Regions from separate parts of the Homo sapiens genome. Here all the other regions are linked to region 2. The links are contacts of gene promoters, found by promoter capture Hi-C in blood cells and fetal thymus (Javierre and others, 2016). All regions are on one chromosome and are shown on one strand. Each heading gives the region's core, a stretch centred on a gene start or on the middle of the fragment in contact. The rest is flanking DNA. Distances are from core to core; before and after follow the strand shown.

Evidence for each region. Contacts are between HindIII fragments. The CHiCAGO score rates a contact against its expected background, and 5 or more counts as called.
Region 1: a fragment that was not itself captured here is called in contact with the fragment with the promoter of SPEN in region 2 in 1 of 17 cell types (non-activated CD4 T cells); the score reaches 5.8 in non-activated CD4 T cells.
Region 3: a contact is called between the fragment with the promoter of ARHGEF19 here and the fragment with the promoter of SPEN in region 2, in 1 of 17 cell types (activated CD4 T cells). The highest score is 5.2, in activated CD4 T cells.

Annotation. Positions count from the first base shown.
Region 1 is chr1:15,577,160-15,580,150 of GRCh38, reverse strand. AGMAT (agmatinase (putative)) reads left to right here. Exons shown (of 7, transcript NM_024758.5): 3 at 9-57; 4 at 1,097-1,292; 5 at 2,287-2,466. Among named protein-coding and RNA genes, the nearest start is that of AGMAT, 6.4 kb to the left of the region's middle. The HindIII fragment of the contact is 1,332 bases long and covers 744-2,075 here.
Region 2 is chr1:15,846,014-15,849,274 of GRCh38, reverse strand. It overlaps SPEN (spen family transcriptional repressor), which reads right to left and starts at 1,568. Exons shown (of 15, transcript NM_015001.3): 1 at 1,125-1,568. The coding sequence starts at 1,207. It overlaps SPEN-AS1 (SPEN antisense RNA 1), which reads left to right and starts at 1,128. Exons shown (of 2, transcript NR_024279.1): 1 at 1,128-1,167. RefSeq lists silencers at 662-1,081, 1,262-1,831 and enhancers at 1,414-1,925, 1,926-2,438. The HindIII fragment of the contact is 15,488 bases long and covers 1-3,261 here.
Region 3 is chr1:16,210,910-16,213,967 of GRCh38, reverse strand. It overlaps ARHGEF19 (Rho guanine nucleotide exchange factor 19), which reads left to right and starts at 1,316. Exons shown (of 16, transcript NM_153213.5): 1 at 1,316-1,466. RefSeq lists an enhancer at 814-1,512. The HindIII fragment of the contact is 4,473 bases long and covers 1-2,043 here.

The DNA.
Region 1 (2,991 bases), core at 160-2,659, 270 kb after region 2:
CTTTGCAGGTGGAGATCACACAATCACATATCCCATATTGCAAGCGATGGCAAAAAAGTAAGTCTCAAATGGCTTGGGCCCAGCAAGATTTCAAAAGCCAGAAGCTAGGGAATGAGTTATTTGCTGTTTGGTGGCATTAGGTGACTGCTGCTGGCTCAGGTTATGAGCTGCTTCTGGGGATCAAAATTAAGGTTGAGCTCCAGGTGTCTCTGTCAGTCAGCAGCTAGAAGCCAAGACAATTTATTATTAACAGTTCTGGCCACCCTCCCTTGCCCTAGATCTCTCCTGGTATGTGTGCTCAGCATTTTCAACTTGCTTCTGTTTTTGGAAGATGAGCCTCTAGTGAAATACACAACCTCAGTTAACTTCAGTTTCTGTTTTGCTTCAATGGCCAAAAACAAACACTGACAGGCACAATGGTGGACCTTGCTGAGAGGCCCTTGTTTCCTCCTGAAAGGGCACCTTTCTCAATCAAAAGACTGATTTGCCAGTAGTGGAAGTCTACCCAGGATTGGCCGACTTTGGCTAATTTAGTTTGAGAAAGAGACAGAAGGACCCGGGTGGAGGGTGGCAGCTCCAGAATGTGTCTGTGGAAGCACATGTGGGTGGCATTCTGGTTGGAGGTGGGAGGGTGCAGGTCTTTGCTCAAAGCTGCATTTATTCCTCACGGATTTGGATCAGATGTTTATTTTGGGTGGCTGGCAGGGGTTGATGGAGGTTATGGAGAGAGCTGGATTAAAGCTTCCTCTTCCTCGGTTGGAGAAAGGGTGTGTCTTGGTTTAGTTAAGCCTTCAGCCAAGCTCCCCTGTGCCACCACCCTTGATTCTCATCCTGTCTCTAAGTGAAGCAAATTCTGGGTGATAGGTGTGGGTGGCAGCCAAAACATGTCTATTTCCTGCCTGACTTCTGTGAGTTTATTGTTCCTCTGAGATGCAAAGTGATCTCAAGAAGACAGGAACCAGTTGCAAGGCAGAAAACGGATGCCAGGTCTCCCCTTTTTGGCTGTGAATTGTCACCAAGTTTTGGTGGCCCGAAGGGTGGCTGTGCTAGGGCCCCACAGGGAGGGTTGGCCTCTGAGCTGCCCTGTTGTCATCAGGCATGGCCCAGTGGGGCTGCTGCACGTGGATGCGCACACGGACACGACCGACAAGGCCCTAGGAGAGAAGCTCTACCACGGGGCGCCCTTCCGCCGGTGTGTGGATGAGGGTCTCCTGGACTGTAAGCGTGTGGTGCAGATTGGCATCCGGGGCTCTTCCACGACCTTGGATCCCTACAGATACAACCGGAGCCAGGTGACAGACCGAATGCCCCCCACCCTTGCCCCTCAAAATGTCTTCCTCTCCGTTGCCTCACCAGTGGCAGCCAGGGATTGAGCGGGGGCTTTACTAATCAAGTCTGAAGCAGGGATACAAGGCTGAGTTTGCATCATCAGGGGCATAAGGAGCATAGGAGTGAGGAAGTTGGTTTATGGGCCATGGGAAGTCTATCGCTGGGCGGGGGAGACAAGCAGAAATCGACCAACCCCTCGGACGGTGCTGGCTTAGAAGAGGGGAGGAGGCCGGGCACAGTGGCTCACACCTGTAATCCCAGCACTTTGGGAGGCTAAGGTGGGTGGATCACCTGAGGTCAGGAGTTCGAGACCAGCCTGGCCAACATGGTGAAACCCCGTCTCTCCTAAAAATACAAAAATTAGCCAGGTGTGGCGGTGCGCACCTGTAATCCCAGCTACTCGGGAGACTGAGGCAGGAGAATTGCTTGAACGTGGGAGGTGGAGGTTGCAGTGAGCTGAGATCGCGCCACTGCACTCTAGCCTAGGTGACAAAGTGAGACTCCATCTCAAAAGAAAAAAAAAAGAGGGGAGGAAGTCCGGACCCAAGATGAGTTGCCACCTTCTTAGTTCTGGTCCTCGTACCCTCTAGGCAGAATGGCTCTCAGATAGACGTGTATGACAAGACCCCAATGGAACAGACCCAAATCCCTTGCTTTTAGAGCGTGCCAAGGCCAGTCTTCTGGACAGAGCAATTCAAAAGGTGCTAGCGTGAGCTGCTGTTTCCCACTCTTGCTTTAGCAAAGCTTCTCTCTGATTCCAACTCCATCAGTCAGCTTTGACCCTGCTTCCTTACCACTCATTGTCCCTCCCTTCCTCACCTGTAAAATAGGATAGTTCCCTCTTCATGGAGATGGAGGGTCAAGTGTCATGTGCACACAGAGCTGAGCATGGGGCTGGCAAACAGGAAATGCCCTGTAAATGCTGCCAGACAGAAACCTCAGTCCCTGTCTCTGCAGGGCTTCCGGGTAGTCCTGGCTGAAGACTGCTGGATGAAGTCGCTGGTTCCTCTGATGGGGGAAGTCAGGCAGCAGATGGGAGGCAAACCCATTTATATCAGCTTTGATATTGACGCTCTGGATCCTGCCTATGCGCCAGGGACAGGGACACCTGAAATTGCTGGTCTCACTCCTAGTCAGGTAAGGAGATTCCACCAGTGAAGATCCTGGGGGTGGAGACACTTAACACCCATTTTCCTGGGACTTGAAGCGAATCTTTAGGAATCAGGATAGGATTTTTGTTTGTTTGTTTGAGACGGAGTCTCACTCTGTCGCCCAGGCTGGAGTGCAGTGGTGCGATCTCGGCTCACTGCAACCTCCGCCTCCCAGGTTCAAGCGATTCTCCTGCCTCAGCCTCCTGAGTAGCTGAGATTACAGGCACATGCCACTACGCCCGGCTAATTTTTGTATTTTTAGTAGAGATGGGGTTTCACCATGTTGGTCAGGCTGGTCTTGAACTCCTGATCTCGTGATCCACTCACCTCGGCTTCCCAAAGTGCTGGGATTACGGGTGTCAGCCACCGCGCCTGGCTGCCAAGGTAGGATTTTAAGAGCAGAGCACCTAGGCCTTTTCTGTTCTCTGGGCTGAGGATAAGTTTGAATACCCTCTTACTGAAGGGTGATTGATTTTGGCAAGGGCCTTCATTTCCTATCTGGGATATAATA
Region 2 (3,261 bases), core at 319-2,818:
TACATAGTAAGGGAAATTAAAAGCCAAACTTAAAACCTTCCAGGGTCTTAAATATCGGAATAAACTGTCATTTTCGAGGACAACCACAGATTTGCTATGGTCCCTCTGAATCTGCACCAAGTCCAAGCCAATCGTCATTTTAATAAGTGTTTTATGCGGAGGCCTATCTGTTACGGTACACAGGCATTTCACAAAGAAAACGCACTACACGCTACTCAATAAGATGTATCAACGACAACATTTATTCTTATAATTCACAAAAATATTCAGGGGAGGTTTTTTTTTTAAGCTACATCTTCTCATCGTAAAAGGTTTGGAATGTTTTACCGTTTGATTCGGGAATTCAGGGGTGGGGGGCACCAGGGTCTTAGGGCGGCCTGGGAGTGCGACCCGAGGCTACGGGCGCCGGGGCTAGCAACCTCCTGTCAGACGCGGTCTCCTCCGCCGGGGACGAGGAAGCCCAAACGGGCGCACCAACTTATTTCACACCACTCTCCACCCAGCCCCGCAAAAACGAGAAACGTTTGCCATTCCCAGTGAGTTTCAAGGCTGCAAATCCTCCGGAGAGGTCCTAGATGGTCTCTCCGGGTCCGCGACGCGACCACAGTACCTACTGCGACTTCTGTTTTCGCACCGCCTTTCCCTTCGCACGGAACCCTCCCGAAGTCAGACATTGCCGAGCGCCCGCAGAGCAGCTTGGAGTGGCGGCGCCGGACCCGGCTGTCGGGCGGGCTCGGGTCCCGGCTGCTCCGGGCCGGGCACTGCGCGCAAGGACGCGACCCCGCCGCCCAGCGCATCTCCCACCGACTCCCGGGCTGACGCGAGGGCAGCCCCGGGGCGCCGGCTGCGTGGAGGCCGAGCCTCGGTCACCTCCCTCGTCACGGACGCGGCCGCCGGGGCCCCGCGGGCTCTTCGAAGGCGGCGCGGCTTGGCCGCCCGCACCGCCGACACCCGAGGCCCAACGCCGCGACGCGGGCCGAGCGGCTGACGAGGTCCCACAGCGCCCGTGGGTCCGGGCCGGAGTCCTCCTCACCAGCTCCGCGCTCCGGGAGGGGCCGGCAACGGGCCGGGGCGGGAAGCGGCGCCCGAGGAGCGAGCGCGGCCGCGGGCCTCGTGTCACTCACCGTTTGAAATGCTCGATGATCTTCTCTTCCCGCACGTTCTCGGGTAAGTTGCCCACCCAGAGATGCCTGGTTTCCCGGACCATGCTGGGCGGCGTGCCGGCGACCGCCGCTGCTGGCTCCCCCTCGCCGGCTTCGTACGAGACCGTCAGCGCCGGGAGGCGGGTGCCGGGGCGGCGGCGGCGGCGGCTGCGGCGGTGGCGTCGGCAGCGGCGGCGGCTCCTCCGGCTCCCCCCCGTGCAGAGACCATCCCTCTCCCCCAGGTTCTGACTCTCGGGCCTCGCAGCTCAGCTCTGCCGCCACCACACACCCGAAGCCGACCCTCGCGCTCCGGCAGCGCATGCGCCCGGGCAGGGGCGGGCGGGGGAGCGGGAGGAGGGGCGAGCGGGACACGGGCGGCAGCGACTACGACGGAGCTGGCGCTGTGGCAGCCGGACGCTTCCCACTGGCGCGCGCGGCCCGACTCCCGCCGCCGCACTGCCTCCCCCTCGCCGCGGGCGCGCGCGCGTCCTCCCGCCTGCCAAGGCGGAGAAGCTGAGTTCCTCCCAGCCGGCGCGCAGGCGCGCGGACCGGGCGACGAAGTGAGGGACTACAGGCGGGGAAGGAACGCTCGCGCGCTCGGCCCCGGTGCGCAGGCGCGCAGCTGCTAGTGGAGTCCCGCTGCTTGGCGGGCTCTCGGTCGGGTTCCCGCGCCGGGCAAGGGGCGGCTGAGGAAGCAGGAGCGGTCTTTAGCCCCTCCAGCGGCAACCCCAGGCCCCGGCCTGGTGGAAGATATGAAGAGAAATGCAATTGGTTTCCACAGGGCTACGGGTCAAAGCGGCTGCCAAGGCCTGTCCCCTAGAAGTCAGGACCCCTTCGTCCTCCGCTCACCTGGCGGCCAGCTCCTGGCGTTTCCGGACACTTAGATTCCTGCCTGCTTGGGAAAGCGATCAGAAAAAGGTTGCCCTTCTCACCGCTCTGCTGAACAGCGACGGCTTCAGAAACGCATCCCATCCAAGAGTCACTGGCTTGTAACATGAAGCAACTTTTTTTTTTTTAATACGGGGTCTCGCTCTGTTGCCCAGGCTGCTGGAGTGCAGTGGCACGGTCTCGGCTCACTGCAATCTCCGCCTCCCAGACTCAAGCGATTCTCCTGCCTCAGCCTCCCAAGTAGCTGGGATTACAAGCACCCGCAACCACACCTGGCTAATTTTTGTATTTTTATTAGAGACAGGGTTTCACCATGTAGGCCAGGCTGGTCTTGAACTCCTGACCTCAGGTGATCCGCCCGCCTCGGCCTCCTAAAGTACTGGGAGTACAGGCGGGAGTCACTGCACCTGGCCTAAGCAACTTTTTTATATAGAATCTTGCGAAACCGTTTGCAAGATACCCTTGCTGATCGCTGTGGTATAGAAGGAATAAAACGGAAATGAGACAGGAATCCAATATTGTTCCCCTCAGACCATAATTTAATATTTAAACAGAGAAAGGAATTAGACCTCTGGCCTTTCCAGGCCTAAGAGCTTTTGAAACCTACAGTTGAACTTTCTTTTTTTTTTTTTTTCCTTTGAGACGGAGTTTTGCTTTTGTTGCCCAGGCTGGAGTGCAATGGTGTGTTCTCGGCTTACTGCAACCTCTGTCTCCTGGGTTCAAGCGATTCTCCTGCTTCAGCCTCCTGAGTAGCTGGGATTACAGGCATGCGCCACCATGCCCGGCTAATTTTTGTATTTTTAGTAGAGACAGTTTCTCTGTGTTGGTCAAGCTGGCCTCGAACTCACAACCTCAGGTAATCCACCCGCCTCAAGCCTCCCAAAGTGCTGGGATTACAGGCTTGAGCCACCACGCCCAGCCTCTTTTTTTTTTTTTTTCCTGAGACCAAGTTTCACTCTTGTTAGCCAAGCTGGGGCACAATGGCGCTGTCTCAGCTCACTGCAACCTCCGCCTCCCAGGTTCAAGCGATTCTCCTGCGTCAGCCTTCCGAGTAGCTGGAATTACAGGCGCGCACCACCACACCAGGCTAGTTTTTTGTATTCTTAGTAAAGACGGGGTTTCACCATGTTGGCCAGGCTGGTCTTGAACTCCTGACCTCAGGTGATCTGCCCACCTTGGCCTCCCAAAGTGCTGGGATTACAGGCGTGAGCCACCATGCCCGGCCAGTTGA
Region 3 (3,058 bases), core at 67-2,566, 360 kb before region 2:
GCCAACATGGTGAAACCCTGTCTTGACTAGAAACAAAAAAAATTAGTAGGGTGTGGTGGCATGCGCCTGTAATCCCAGCTACTGGGGAGGCTGAGGCAGAAGAATTGCTTGAACCTGGGAGGCAAAGGTTGCGGTGAGCTGAGATCCCACCACTTGCTCCAGCCTGGGTGACAGAGCAAGACTCCATCTTAAAAATAAATAAATAAATAAATAAATAAATAAATAAATAAATAAATAAAATAAAATAAAATAAAATTTACTGGAGGATGTACAAAGGTTATAGCAAACACTATGACATTTTGTATAAGGGACTGGAGCAGCCATGGATTTTCGTATGGGAGGGTTCTAGAACCAATTCCCCACAGATTCTGGGTACCAAGGGACAACTGTACTCACCTGATAAGTGGTAGCAGTATCTACCTGACAGGGTCATGGTGGAGATTAAATGAGTAAATACATGTGAAGTGCTCAGGACAGTGCCTGGCACCTAGTAGGTGAACAATAAGTTAGCTTCATGACTATTAGTCTGTGTACACATCTGCATATTAATATTAGGTGCCTGGCAATTGCTGGTAGCTCAAACAGATGGCAGGTAGAATTAGGGGAAAATGCAGCTTCCCATTCCACAGGGTTGGGAAGATTGCATGCCGGGCATAGAGCATGCCCTTCTTATTGGAGGCAGTTTGACTTGGCTATTTGGCTTGGTTTATTGAGGGCTCAATTGGTATAGTCTGGGAAGGCTTCATGGTGGAGGCGGCCACTGGAGATGGTGGGGCAGGTCATTCCAGGCCGTGGGAAAGGATGGGGATTTGCAAGCAGTGGCTGTACTAGATGAGGAGAGGCTGTCCAGGATGATGCCACATGTCACATCATCAACTTTCAGGACTGATTTCTGTCTCCCAATCATAGGGATGAGTGTTCCAATTTGATAGATGTAGTAATAGGATCAGAGAGGGTCATCAGGGTTCTCAGGGTCCCTAAGGAGTGCAGGGCTTGGGAGGCTCTCTGTGAAGCTCCCAGGATGCTCCCCAGCTCCAAGAAGTCCCCTGAGCATGCTCATGTTTGGGAAGCTCCAGAAGAGTGGTGACCTGTCTCCTAGGAGCAGAAGCACTGCCTCCCCCGTCTTTAGGACCTGGGTGTAGGGTCCTTCAGAGCCTCACTTGGGCATAGGACTCCCATTGTTCCAGCCCCCCTCTTGTACCCCAGACTAGCCAAACCGGTTCTGGGGAAGGGGGGCGGGGAGCAGGCACGTTGAGACAGCCGCCTGCCTCTCTCTGCAAGGTTCCCTCCTCCTTCACCTCCCCCTCCCTGCCCCACACAATACCCAGGAGCTTGCCTTGCTCGGCTCTGGGGCCATGCTGACATGCTGACATCGCCCCCTGAGGACTTGGCTGCAACCCCAGAGCCCCCAGGGTGTCCCGGAGCCCTGGACCGTGCTGGCAGCTGGACGGAGCTCCCTGGCTGAGGTAGGGCCCCACCTGGGTGCCAGCAGTCCCATTCTCTTCCCGCCAGTTTTCCCCGCTGAGTGAGCCCTTTGTGCTGCCCGCCTGGTCTCTGATCCTGGCTCTGACCCACTATGGCCTTCTGGGGCTCTGTGAACCACTTGGCCTGGATCCACTTTCCAGCCATGACTTCCCACCTGGCTTTATTCCTTAAAGGGCAGAGAGGCTCTGGCAGGGTACCAGCTCTCCTGGGCAGCAAGGCAAGGGGCACCCGGGAGGGGGCAGGGAAAAGCTAGGTACAGGAGGCCAGAAACACTTTTTCTGATCATGGTAGTGTCCAGGGACTCTCTGGCAGCCTTGCTAAGTGGGCCCATCGTCTTCTGTAATTAGCAGCACCCACCAAGGGTACTTTCCTCGGCCCCTGCCCATCCTTCTTGGCCCAGAGACATTTATGATGAGACATGTTTCTTAGAGAGGGCATTGGGCGGTGGTGCGGTCCCTTAGGAGCCACTTTACAGATGGGAATACTGAGGCCAAGGGATGGGCTGTGAATTGCCTAAGGCCACACAGCTGGTCAGTGTCAACACTGGGCCTCAAAGCTTGGGCGGAGGTTATTCTTTTTGGGCTCCAGAGTGGCCCTTGCCTAGTAGACACAAGAGTCTCTATCCTGTGATCGTGCCTTGGGAAGGTAATGTCCCTGCTGTCTGGGGCCAGTTCTCTTTCTGAGGTTTTTGTTTGTTTTTTTCTAACAGAGATGAGCTACACACAATATGAACACAGCTTGTCCCTCTTAGCTCCCCAGCATTGAGGTTGGGTGGGCCAAACCCCTGGAGGGCCACAGGGCTGGCATCCCAGCTAGATGGGTCATTCTTATTACCCCTTGGCTTGAGCATAGGTGGAGGCTGACACACTCCTGACTTCTTCCCTGCTAGGGACCTGCCTCCAGCTTCATCTCCCCGGGAAGCCTTCTATGTCCCCTCTCCCCACATTCACCTAGCCTTCTCCTCTGCAGCCTTAACTGGGGGTGCTCCTGCTGCAAAGCCTCAATGTTTTGCCTACTTATCCCTGTGAGCCATGGGAGAGAGGGTCCCTCCCTGCCCTCCAGGAGCTTCCAGAACCCAAGTGCTAGAATCTCCCAGCATACAAAGGGGCAGGGGGCATGTGTACATGCCTGCACATGTGTGCCCCCAGAAGCAAGTGGGACTTCTGTGTCGAGGACTTCTGATTCCTGCAGAGAAAGAGACCCGTCTGTGGGCAGGGGCCTCCTTGTGCACACTCCTGCGATATAATGTGTGTCTCAGCCTCACTCCTTCATCTTCCCCATCTGTGTGAAGGCCTGAGCTGCCTTCTGTCTAGAGAAAGACTGATGATAATAAAAATACTATCCTATTTGCCGGATGAGGAGACCGAGGCTTAGGGAGACTCGCTCAGATGGGTACTTTTCAGGCTAGAGGGACAGAGGCTGATGGTACAAGCCAGAGTGGCCACCGTAGAGAGGACCCCTTTGGAGCAGCCAGTCCCCTTCTTCCCACCCTCCCAGACAGCAGGGTGAAGGGAGCAGGGGGAAGCAGTTGAGAAGCTGTGCAGAGAGACTGGGGCCTGCCATAGACCCAGCC